Linked DNA regions of Homo sapiens: regions 1, 2 and 4 are each linked to region 3. Evidence: promoter capture Hi-C in 16 types of primary human blood cells and fetal thymus (Javierre and others, 2016). All regions are on one chromosome and are shown on one strand. Each heading gives the region's core, a stretch centred on a gene start or on the middle of the fragment in contact. The rest is flanking DNA. Distances are from core to core; before and after follow the strand shown.

What was found. The method cuts DNA at HindIII sites, captures the fragments that hold promoters and counts their contacts. A CHiCAGO score of 5 or more calls a contact.
Region 1: the fragment with the promoter of SYNGR4 here is called in contact with the fragment with the promoter of PNKP in region 3 in 1 of 17 cell types (naive CD4 T cells); the score reaches 6.1 in naive CD4 T cells.
Region 2: a contact is called between the fragment with the promoter of CARD8 here and the fragment with the promoter of PNKP in region 3, in 1 of 17 cell types (naive B cells). The highest score is 5.3, in naive B cells.
Region 4: a contact is called between a fragment that was not itself captured here and the fragment with the promoter of PNKP in region 3, in 2 of 17 cell types (naive B cells and naive CD4 T cells). The highest score is 8.7, in naive B cells.

What each region holds. Positions count from the first base shown.
Region 1 is chr19:48,363,112-48,365,811 of GRCh38, reverse strand. It overlaps SYNGR4 (synaptogyrin 4), which reads right to left and starts at 1,445. Exons shown (of 5, transcript NM_012451.4): 1 at 1,275-1,445; 2 at 1-76. It overlaps TMEM143 (transmembrane protein 143), which reads left to right and starts at 1,872. Exons shown (of 8, transcript NM_018273.4): 1 at 1,872-1,914; 2 at 2,281-2,521. The coding sequence starts at 1,892. RefSeq lists enhancers at 1,151-1,300, 1,671-1,790, 2,271-2,320. The HindIII fragment of the contact is 5,293 bases long and covers 1-1,812 here.
Region 2 is chr19:48,254,478-48,257,177 of GRCh38, reverse strand. It overlaps CARD8 (caspase recruitment domain family member 8), which reads left to right and starts at 1,266. Exons shown (of 14, transcript NM_001184900.3): 1 at 1,266-1,386. It overlaps CARD8-AS1 (CARD8 antisense RNA 1), which reads right to left and starts at 1,503. Exons shown (of 2, transcript NR_040599.1): 1 at 1,384-1,503; 2 at 1-827. RefSeq lists an enhancer at 1,158-1,397. The HindIII fragment of the contact is 2,537 bases long and covers 1-1,783 here.
Region 3 is chr19:49,866,326-49,869,025 of GRCh38, reverse strand. PNKP (polynucleotide kinase 3'-phosphatase) reads left to right here and starts at 1,450. Exons shown (of 17, transcript NM_007254.4): 1 at 1,450-1,557; 2 at 1,809-1,972; 3 at 2,581-2,627. The coding sequence starts at 1,822. RefSeq lists silencers at 1,314-1,613, 1,684-2,053 and enhancers at 1,213-1,994, 1,995-2,700. The HindIII fragment of the contact is 3,228 bases long and covers 1,060-2,700 here.
Region 4 is chr19:48,633,427-48,636,128 of GRCh38, reverse strand. It overlaps DBP (D-box binding PAR bZIP transcription factor), which reads left to right. Exons shown (of 4, transcript NM_001352.5): 2 at 139-549; 3 at 2,474-2,685. Among named protein-coding and RNA genes, the nearest start is that of DBP, 2.6 kb to the left of the region's middle. RefSeq lists silencers at 199-258, 379-688, 1,399-1,578. The HindIII fragment of the contact is 627 bases long and covers 1,139-1,765 here.

The DNA.
Region 1 (2,700 bases), core at 196-2,695, 1.5 Mb after region 3:
GTGGGAGCCAGGGTGCTGGGCGCTGCCTGCTGGGCACTGCCGTCCGGGGGCTTCAGGCCAGCCCTGGGCTTGGCTGCTGTGGGATGACACAGATGGGGGATGCCAGTCAGGGGCACGGGGTGGAAGGGCTGTTGGGGGCCCCAGGATTGGGGGACATGGGGTGGGGATGGGGGGGGTCCCCGGAATGGAGTTGTGTGGGGTGAGGGGACTGCTGAGCCTCTTAGGAGTCAGGGTGTGGGGTGAATGGGCTGTCAGGGGCCCCAGAAGTCGGGGACGTAGGATGGGGGTGCAGGTGGGTCCCAGGGAATGAGGTTGTGTGTGCTGAGGGGGCTTCTGTGGGCCCCAGGAGTGGGGGGCATAGGATGGGGGTGCTGGGGGTCCCAGGAATGGGGTTGTGTGGTGAGGGGGCTACTAGGGGTCCCAGAAGTGGGAGGCATAGGATGGGGGTTCTGGGGGGTCCCAGGAAAGGTGTTGTGTGGAGAGGGCTGCTAGGGGTCCCTGAAGTGGGGGACATAGGATGCGGGTGCTGGGGGTTCCCAGGAATGGGGTTGTGTGTGGTGAGGGAGCTTTCTGGGGGTCCCAGGAGAGGGGGGCATAGGATGGGGATACTAGGGGTCCCAGGCAAGGTGTCGTGTGGGGAGGGCTGCCAGGGGTCACAGAGGTGGAGGTGCAGGATGAGAGAGTCGCTAAGGGTCCCCTGGGTTGAGGTGTGGGTTAAGGGGGTCTATGGAGGATTCCAGAGAGGTGAGGGCCTGGGGTGAGGGTGATTCTGGGGGTCCCAGGAGTGGGGGACATAAGTGAAGGGGCTGCTTCAGGTTCCAGAAGTCAGGAATGTGGGCTGAGGGGGTTGTTGGGCGAGAGGGCTGTCAGGGATCCCAGAGGTGGAGTGCAGGGGAGGGCTGGGATATTTGGGGACCACGTCTTGTGACCCAGGAGCTGAAGGGCCTGCAGAGGGACTGGGTCCTTCTGTGAGAGGACACAGGTGGGACTTTCTGGGGACTAGGGGGTGCGGCCATTGAGATCAGAGCCCCTGGGAGGTCTGAAACCGAATAATCCCTTTCAGGTTTGGGGGTGACAGCACCCTTCGTGGAGAACCCAGGTATCTCAGGGCATATTTCAGGCTGTCCTTGTCACTTGGGGCCATTTCCCAGAATAAGGGCCTCCCTTTCGAATTCAGCTCCATTTTCACGGAAGTGCACCTCCTCAAGCTGGGAGTCGGGACCTCGGATTTGTGGGGAACCTCAGAATGAGGCCACGCCCCGGCACTGGGCTACCTTCTTAGAATCGCGGTCTCCCCTTTAAGGACCTGGAATGGCAGTGCTGAGGTTTGGGGGTGACGGCACCTGAGAAGGGGCCGCCCCTTCTCTGGAGGGCCAATCTGCGTCACCTGAGGGCCCGCCCTTCCTTTCGCCACCCCCACCCCTCCTGGTCCCTAGCGCCACCTCAGCCTTCTTTTGGTTCCGCTTTTTCCCGCCTTTTCGCTCCTCCACAGCTGATTGGCTGCGCCCAAGTCCCGCCCCCTCCCTCTTTCCGCCTACTCAGGAGCTGACACGAGCCGGGGCGTGGCCTCGGCGAACGTTGGACTGCGCGCCGTTGGCGGACTGCGCGCGGGAGCCCTACCCCGCCCCATCCCTCTAGGGAGTCTCGCGTCCACACCGCCCCTTCCCTTTGTAGCAAGCTGACAAGGAGACACTCCTGCGGCGCATGCGTCGCGCCCAAACGAGGCCGGCGGTGGAGAAAGGCAGGCAACGCATGCGTAGTTGATGTAGGGAGTCGGCGGTGAGAAATGGACAGCCCGCATTGACCGAAGCTTTGCGCATGCGTTTTACTGCTGGGTGAAGCCGAACCTCGGGAGCCCAGGACGCCCTCCTGCACATGCGCAGGAGGCTCAATGACAGTCGAGCTTTGGCTAAGGTGAGGGAGAAATCGGGGGATTGCATGGCCAGGGAGGGCGGCCCTGCACCCCCTAGGTAACCTTTACGAGCATTTCCTGCTCTCCTAAGATCTACCTCGCTGTCTAGACCCCAAAGAAACGTTGTACCACTACAGGGTCTCTGGGCCTGAAAAACGCCCCAGAACCTAAGACCTCTGACCCCTGTCTGGGACCCAGGCCAACTGAGCAGTGTGGGAAGGGGACAGGCAACAGGGGCTTTGAGGCGAGCGGATGGGCTCTGCGCCCTGCCTGGGGTAGAGACGGCTTCTGGAGGGTGGGACGTGGAGGTGGAGAGGGCGCTTTTCCTCTAGATGGCCTTTGACCCCTGCCCATTTTCCTCTGTTTAGGCTCCGGGGAAAGGGTCTAGCCATGCTGCATGTGACCCGGGGGGTCTGGGGGTCCAGGGTCCGAGTATGGCCACTGTTGCCCGCGCTCCTCGGGCCCCCCCGGGCCCTCTCATCGCTGGCAGCCAAAATGGGGGAGTATCGCAAGATGTGGAACCCCAGGGAGCCCCGCGACTGGGCCCAGCAGTACCGCGAGCGCTTCATTCCCTTCTCCAAGGAGCAGCTGCTCCGCCTCCTAATACAGGTACCGCCTGTCCCAGGCCCAAGAGCCTGGGGACTACGGCTCCCAGCAGGCTTCGCGGCGGCAGGGCCCTAGTTGCTGCAGAGAGCTGCCCTGGCGCCTCCTGGGAGTTGTAGTTCCCGGGTCCCTTCGTGTTTCCCTAGTGGGCGGGAGATGAGCTGGAATGCAGGAGCCAGGTCTCC
Region 2 (2,700 bases), core at 17-2,516, 1.6 Mb after region 3:
ATATATATACATTTATTGTATTATATATAATATACAACTGTATATGTAATTGTAATATAATAATTATATACATAATAGTATATGTAATACAAGTATCCAACCAGGAAATTGATGTCAACGTATCTTACCATTACCTAATGTGCAGACCTTATTTGAATTTTGTCAATATTTCTCTTAACGTCCTCTTTCTTCTCCAAGATCGAATCGAGGATCTCACATTGCACTCAGTTGTTATGTCCTTAGATTCCTCCAGGCTGTGACCGTTTCTTATTCTTCCCTTGTCTTTTGTGATTGTGACACTTTTGCTGAGCATGGCCAATTATTTTACAGAATGTTTATCAATTTGGATTTCTTTGATGTTTTCTCACGATTAGGCTGAGGTCATGCATGTTTGTCTTCTGTGTTCAGTCAATATGCCCCATCCTTTTTCAAATATTTCTTCATGTTCTGGCGTCAGAATTTGTTCCAATGTTATCTTATATATTCCTGCCCCAGCCCTCGAAGTAACCATTTCTCCACAGATACTTCAAAATAGTATTTAGAAACCAAGGCCGGGCACAGTGGCTCACGCCTGTAATCCCAGCACTTTGGGAGGCCGAGGCGGGCTGATCTCGAGGTCAAGAGACGGAGACCATCCTGACCAACATGGTGAAACTCCGTCTTTACTAAAAATACAAAAAATTAGCCGAGCGTGGTGGCATGCACCTATAATTCCAGCTACTCGGGAGGCTGAGGCAAGAGAATCGCTTGAACCTGGGAGGCAGAGGTTGCAGTGAGCCGAGATTGCTCCATTACACTCCAGCCTGGGTGACAGACGGAGACTTCATCTCAAAAAAAAAAAAAAGTAATATTGATTAAAAATCAAATTGCATGAGAATGCATAGCAGGATACCAAGCAAATACAACTTTTAAATATTACAGAAAATGATATTTAAAATACAAACCAAATACATAAATCATGCAGGCGGATTAAGACGTTTCTGGATAGTGGTAACAGCTGAGAGTGGCTGGATGAATTCCAGAGAAATTTCATATATTGCTTCAATTTTATTTAAAATATACTATTACCTATGTCTTAGATATTTTATTTTAAATAATGAACAAGGATATTATAAACTCTGCAGAAGTAAGTGTAATCGTGTTTTTTTCCTGCCCACATTAAAGATGGCCCAGATGCTTGCACTGACCCCATTGACTGCCCACAGCCATCATGGCGACCGGAAGTCCTGAGAGCTTACTTCCCTCAGTTCTCAGAAAGCCCACCTCCTCTGCGAGCGTTATTTCAAAAGAAGTTGAGAACCAGAGAAACCGACCTAAGGGGATTCTCCCATTTGGCCCGTCCTACCCTAAAGTCACCACCTGCTGCTTTTCTGGAGCGCTTACCAGGTGAGTTTCAGGAGCCCTAGTGTACAGGAAGGAGAAACGGAGGCTTGTTGGTAGGACACCGCCAGGCTGCTCTGTGTTCTGTTCCTCTTAGTCAGCAAGGAAGGAGTACGACAAAGTGAGAAGTTCATATGAGCGTGTCAGAAGGGGAAATAGGGCCCCTCCCTTGTTAAAAACAAAACCCTCTGGAAGCTCGGCATCCTGTCATAACTTAAATTTATGACTTCAGTGACTTGGCTTGGACAGTCTTAATAATCTCTCTCACACTCAATTTGTTTTAATTTCTGTAATAATAATTTTTATACCAATGTTTATGTTGTTAATACTAATAATTTTACACTGTAACTGTATAACTTTAATTATTAGAAGTGTTAACCTAACTAACAAACATATGAAAGCTTCCTAAGGGAAACAATTTTTTTTTCTTTTTGAGATGGAGTCTCGCTCTGTGGCTAGGCTGGAGTACAGTGGCATGATCTTGGCTCACTGCAACCTCTGCCTCCCAGGTTCAAGCGATTCTCGTGCCTCAGTCTCCCAAGTAGCTGGGACTACAGGCGTGCACCACCACATCCAGCTAATTTTTTATTTTTTAGTAGAGACGGGGTTTCACCATGTTGGCCAGGATGGTCTCCGTCTCTTGACCTCGAGATCAGCCCGCCTTGGCCTCCCAAAGTGTTGGGATTACAGGCGTGAGCCACTGCGCCCAGCCGGAAACAATGTTTATTTGGGAATAGAGCATTGCAATTGGGAATAGACATGCCGTATTAAACTATGTGTATATTCAGGGAGATAAAGGAAGACAGAAATGGGGAGGATTGCATATTGTTTTAACAGAATTTTCCTTGGCTACAAAGATCAGTAACAAGGGTGACATTAGTCCTAGGTTGGACCAGCAGTTGCTGGGCAGCATTCCTTGCAGAAATATATATTTTTTTAAGGTTGTGAAGACCTTTATGTAAGGTTGTGGGTTTTGTAGAGTCTTTTTCATCTTCAGGCATGCAAGGATAAGAGCCCTCTCTTCATGGCCTTCCTGGCTCTATTTGTCAGGGTTATCTTAACATAAGTGACTCCATTTTGTTCTGACAACTTTCAGATTTCCCCTTGTGATCAAGAAGTTTCTCTGAAAGCACTCTCCTGCCTCAGCCTCCCGAGTAGCTGCGACTACAGGTGCCCACCACCACACCCAGCTAATTGTTTTTGTGTTTTTAGTAGAGACGGGGTTTCACTATGTTGGCCAGGCTGGTCTCGAACCCCTGACTTGTGATCTGCCCACTTCGGCCTCCCAAAGTGCTGGGATTACAGGGATGAGCCACCGCA
Region 3 (2,700 bases), core at 201-2,700:
GTGAGTGTTCATTCAACATTTTCTGAAACCGAATGGCAGCGTCTGATTATCAGTGAATAGCTGGGGGTTGGAATTACTGTGCCCATTTTATTTACTTTTTTGAGACAGGGTCCCACTCTCGCCCAGGTTCAAGCGATTCTCCTGCCTCAACCTCCCGAGTAGCTGGGATTACGCGCCACTGCCGCCCGGGTAATTTTTGTATTTTCAGTAGAAACAGGGTTTCATCATGTTGGTCAGGATGGTCTTGAACTCCTGACCTCAAATGATCCACCCGCCTTGGCCTCCCAAAGTGCTGGGATTACAGGCGTGAGCCACGGCGCCTGGCTTTGTGCCCATTTTATAGATATGAAGACACAGGTTCATGGGGTGGAGGAGAGCATCCCAGTCTTATGTGACCATGGAACCCAATCTTGAGGAGGTGAGTGTTGGAGACAGAGCCCACATATTCACCAGCAAAGCCAGGAACTCCAGCCGGGAGTCTTCTATTATAAAAGGACTGGAGCAACTGGGCTTGGTGCCTCACGCCTATAAGCCCAACACGCTGGGAGGCCAAGGCGGGAGGATCACATGACACCAGGAGGTCGAGATCAGCCTGGGCAGCACAGTGAGACCCCTTCTCCAAAGGGAAAAAAAAATGGCTGGAGGTTAGAAAGCAGGTGGAACCTCGTCCGAAATTAGGACTAGGTAAACGTAGTCCCACCAGACCACTACCGAAAGAATGCTAACACTAAATAAGACTTAAACGGATCTGAGCACTTTGGGAGGCCGAGGTGGGCGGATCACGAGATCAGGAGATCGAGACCGTCCTGGCTAACACGGTGAAACCCCGTCTCTACTCAAAATACAAAAAATTAGCTGGGCGTGGTGGCGGGCGCCTGTAGTCCCAGCTACTCGGGAGGCTGAGACAGGAGAATGGCGTCAACCCGGGAGGCGGAGCTTGCAGGTGAGCCGAGATCGCGCCACTGCACTCCAGCCTGGGCGACAGAGTGAGACTCCGTCTCAAAAAAAAAAAAAAAAAAAGACTTAAACAGGGCTCACTACCACCCATTTTTTAAAGCTTTTGTCACGTGTTAGCTCCTTTAATCGTCATGGTAACCCCACGAAGCGGAAACGATTATCCTTTTTATAGATGAGGAAACTAGAACATCGAGGGTGAAGCCAAAGAAGGACTTAGGGGCGCTGTCGGGGGCGGAGGTTTCCTCGACTGACAATGACCATCAGATGGGAAAAAAATCTTCCTCCCTGGGATGAAAATTAGAAGTCAAGGTGGAAAGAGGCAAATCTGCTAACGGAGGATCCAGTCCCCGCTACCGGCCTGAGCCTCGCGTTGCAGCAAGAGAGATGAAGGTCAGGGCTGCCGAGAGACCCTGGGGGCCGGGAGTCGGGGAAGGGGCGTGGCTGCTGTGGGAGGAGGCCAGGCCCCGCCCCCCACCCACGAGGGGACGAGTCATTTCCGTCCGCCGAGGAACCGACCGCCGCCGGCCGGGTTGCAGGCGGGGCACCTCGGGCAGGACCTCCCTGGTCGGAAGTGGCCGTGAGCCCAAGCCGCGGTCCCGGGTGAGTACGGGGCGGGGCGGAGGCATGTGCGAGGCTCTCTGCCTGTACGCTGGAAAGTGGGGATTGCAACTCGGGGAGGGATGGAGCACGCGTCGTCGCCTGGGAAACGGGTCGACCCGCGGAAGGCGAGCGGGTGGGACTTCCGGAGCAGTTAATGGTGGGGAAACTTTCTAGTGGATGTGGGAGGAGGCGGGACTTCCTGCAGCAAATTGGGGCTGTGCGCCGCTCAAGCCCGTTTACCTGCTCCCCAGGCCGGCACCCAGGATGGGCGAGGTGGAGGCCCCGGGCCGCTTGTGGCTCGAGAGCCCCCCTGGGGGAGCGCCCCCCATCTTCCTGCCCTCGGACGGGCAAGCCCTGGTCCTGGGCAGGGGACCCCTGACCCAGGTTACGGACCGGAAGTGCTCCAGAACTCAAGGTGAGCGGGGCCTGAGCTGGAGGGGGTGTGGCCTGCTGCAAAAGCGGGAACAATCCAGAGGGACGCTTGGCTGCTACGCGGGATTGCAGTGGTGCAGCCAGCCCCGAAGTCGGAAGGTGCTCTCTAGGGAGTACAGGAAGATAAAGTTTGTGCTTGATTTAGAATTAGCTAGATCCTTTGGGGGAGAGGGGATCGAGCCGATTTAGGGAGGATGTTCACTGCGCGGATGATGCTCAGGCCATCGGGAAATCCAGAAACAGGCGACGACCTTCGTCAAGAGAAAAATGATCCTGTGGAGAAAAGTAAATGTCGCTAGGTTGGGATGGATGGTAACAGGCCAAGCCCCGGACCTATATCTAGCCACATTTTTTGTCAAGGAGGAAACCAATTCTGTAGAGAAAAGTACCTCCCTGTCCCTTGCAAGGACCAGTGTCAGGCAATCCTAGTGCCACTATCTGGCTACTGCATGTCAAGGAGCCAATCCCATGTAGAAATAAACTGCCTCTTACTCCCTGGATGCTATAGCCTGAAGCAGGCCACACTCCCCAGAAATGAGGGACCCAATCACACAAGGATGCAAATCCTGACTCCACCCCTCCAATCCTCAGTGGAGCTGGTCGCAGATCCTGAGACCCGGACAGTGGCAGTGAAACAGGTATCAGTGCCTCTGCAAGGGCCAGCAAGGCCTGGGGATGGGATTTGGGGAGGAATTGCAAGCCGTCAGTGAA
Region 4 (2,702 bases), core at 203-2,702, 1.2 Mb after region 3:
TCTCCCGTCTCTCCTCTCCGACCCCCCGTCCCCTCTTTCTCTGGATCTCCGCCCTGTGCCTCTCGGACTCGGGGTCTCTTCTCCATCTCTATCTCCCCCACCTCACCCTCATCCCAACCCGTCTTTCCCGGCCCGCAGGTCTCCTGAAGGAAAAGGAGCGCAAGGCGGCCCTGCCTGCAGCCACAACCCCTGGGCCAGGCCTGGAGACTGCGGGCCCGGCGGATGCCCCGGCTGGGGCAGTGGTGGGCGGAGGGTCCCCGCGGGGGCGCCCGGGGCCGGTGCCCGCCCCGGGTCTGTTGGCGCCACTGCTGTGGGAGCGCACGCTGCCGTTCGGCGATGTGGAGTACGTAGACCTGGACGCCTTCCTGCTGGAGCACGGGCTCCCGCCCAGCCCGCCGCCCCCCGGTGGCCCGTCGCCGGAGCCGTCGCCCGCGCGGACGCCCGCACCCTCCCCAGGGCCGGGTTCGTGCGGCTCGGCTTCCCCCCGCTCCTCTCCTGGGCACGCCCCCGCCCGGGCTGCCCTCGGGACCGCCAGCGGCCACCGCGCAGGTGCGGCGAAGGGGGCGGGGCGGGTCCTGACGGGGCGGGGCTTGGACTCAGGGGGCGGGGCTGTGCGACGCTGGGGGCTGGGACCGTGGGACCTGGCTGCGGCCTCGAATTCTGTGTCCAGTTGTCGAGAGGTGTCGTGGGAGGGGGCCAGATTCGGTGTCTCTTAATGGGTCAGGGACCAATGGATCCATGGGGGAGGAGAGACTTGGAACCCTAAATTCCAGGAAGCCTGCCCAATGAGATTTTGTGGGTTTTTCTGTGGGACTTGGGGACAAACGATGTGGATACTCGTGAAGCCAGAACTGGAAGTCCGGAACACCAGAGTTATTTACTGGGGAGTGGACTGACCCCCGAATCTGGGCCCATAATCGATGGAACTGGGATAGGACTGGAGCCCCTAGGTCCTTTACAGGGGCAAAGGCAAAGGAGAGGCACAGAATTCTGTTTACCCAGGACATAAGAGACTGGCAGCCCAGGTCCCTGGGTCCCCCAGTGGGGCGTGCTGCAGCCCCGGGTCCCAGAGTTCTTCAGAAGGGAAAACGTTAGGGATGTTGTTTCTGGATCCTCCAATTGGGGCTGGGGCCAAGCTTCCTATATTCCTAGGAGAGGCCTGGGATCCCAGAATCGTGGTAGCCCAGTGGCGGGGGTTCTGGGAAGGTCCAGGAGGCCGATGCTCCCCGGAGAGCAGGGGGTTGGGAATCTTTGGAGGTTGAGTGGAACTAAGTGACTGGAAGAGCAAGAGGAAAGATGTTTCCCTTTGGGCACATTGAGGTCTCCAGGGACGGACTGCAGGTCGGGGATTCCTGGGCACACCTGCTCCAGGTCCGACCTCCGGGCCGAACCAGGGCCCTACCCTTCCCAGCGGCACATTCCTGCGCCACGTGAGTCCTCCCATCCCTCCTCCGCGCTTCGCGCAGGCGCCTTCAAGCGCGAGGGGGGCGGGGCCGGGGGAACGTGAGGGCGCCGATGGCGGGGGCCTGGGAGGAAGGGAGGAGGAGGGAAGCAGGCGTCAGCACGTGACTCGGCCCTGAACCTGTGTCCTTAGCTGGCCCCGGCTGGCTGGTGCTTAAAGGTACAGGCGCCTCCTTTCGAACCAATCTTCTGGAACCTTAGAGCAGCTTCTCCTCCTCTTTCCAGCGAGTAGCTCTTAGACTCTAACTTGAGAGCTTTTCAGTGCAGTAGATTCTTTTTCTCTGGACAGTCTGGGGTCTAAGCTTAGGTCGTGGATTCGGTAAGTAGGATTCAGGCTAGACTGTGCATCTGAAGTCCTGAGGTTTTAGAAGCAATAGCCCCATCGCTTCTCGGCCTTTTGGCTAAGATCAAGTGTAGAAGCAATAGCCCTGATTCGTGTGTTACCTAGGGCAAGTCAGTTATGACTGGGACTCAGTTTCCTTGTTTGTAAAGGTGGATATGGCTCCATGATCTCTAAGCATCTTTATGGCTTAGGGGAACCTTCATTTTTCTCGTTATTTTGGAGACGGAGTCTCGCTCTGTTGTCCGGGCTGGAGTGCAGTGGTATGATCTCAGCTCACTGCAACCTCCACCTCCAGGGTCCGGGTTCAAGCAATTCTCCAGCCTCAGCCTCCCTAGTAGCTGGGCTTACCGGCACCCGCCACTACACCTGGGCAATTTTCGTACTTTTAGTAAAGATGAGGTTTCTCCATGTTGGCCATGCTGGTCTTGAACTCCTGACTAAAGGTGATTCGCCGCCTCGGCTTCCCAAACTGCTGGGGTTACAGGCGTGAGCCACTGCGCCTGGCCAAGGGAACCTTCATATTTTATATTAGGGAGATTAATCCCTGGCCGAATTTATGCTAGATCCCAGAAGGACTTTCCATGTGGCTATGATACCACAGCAAAAAGTAGCTTCAGGAAACCCCCTCCTTAAAATACACACTCAGCTGACACGTGCTGTTTCCCCAAGGCCTGACCTCTCGGGACACACCCAGCCCTGTGGACCCAGACACCGTGGAGGTGTTGATGACCTTTGAACCCGACCCAGCTGATCTTGCCCTATCAAGCATTCCTGGCCACGAGACCTTTGACCCTCGAAGACATCGCTTCTCAGAAGAGGAACTTAAGCCCCAGCCAATCATGAAGAAGGCAAGAAAAATCCAGGTGCCGGAGGAGCAGAAGGTGAGCAGAGCTGGATG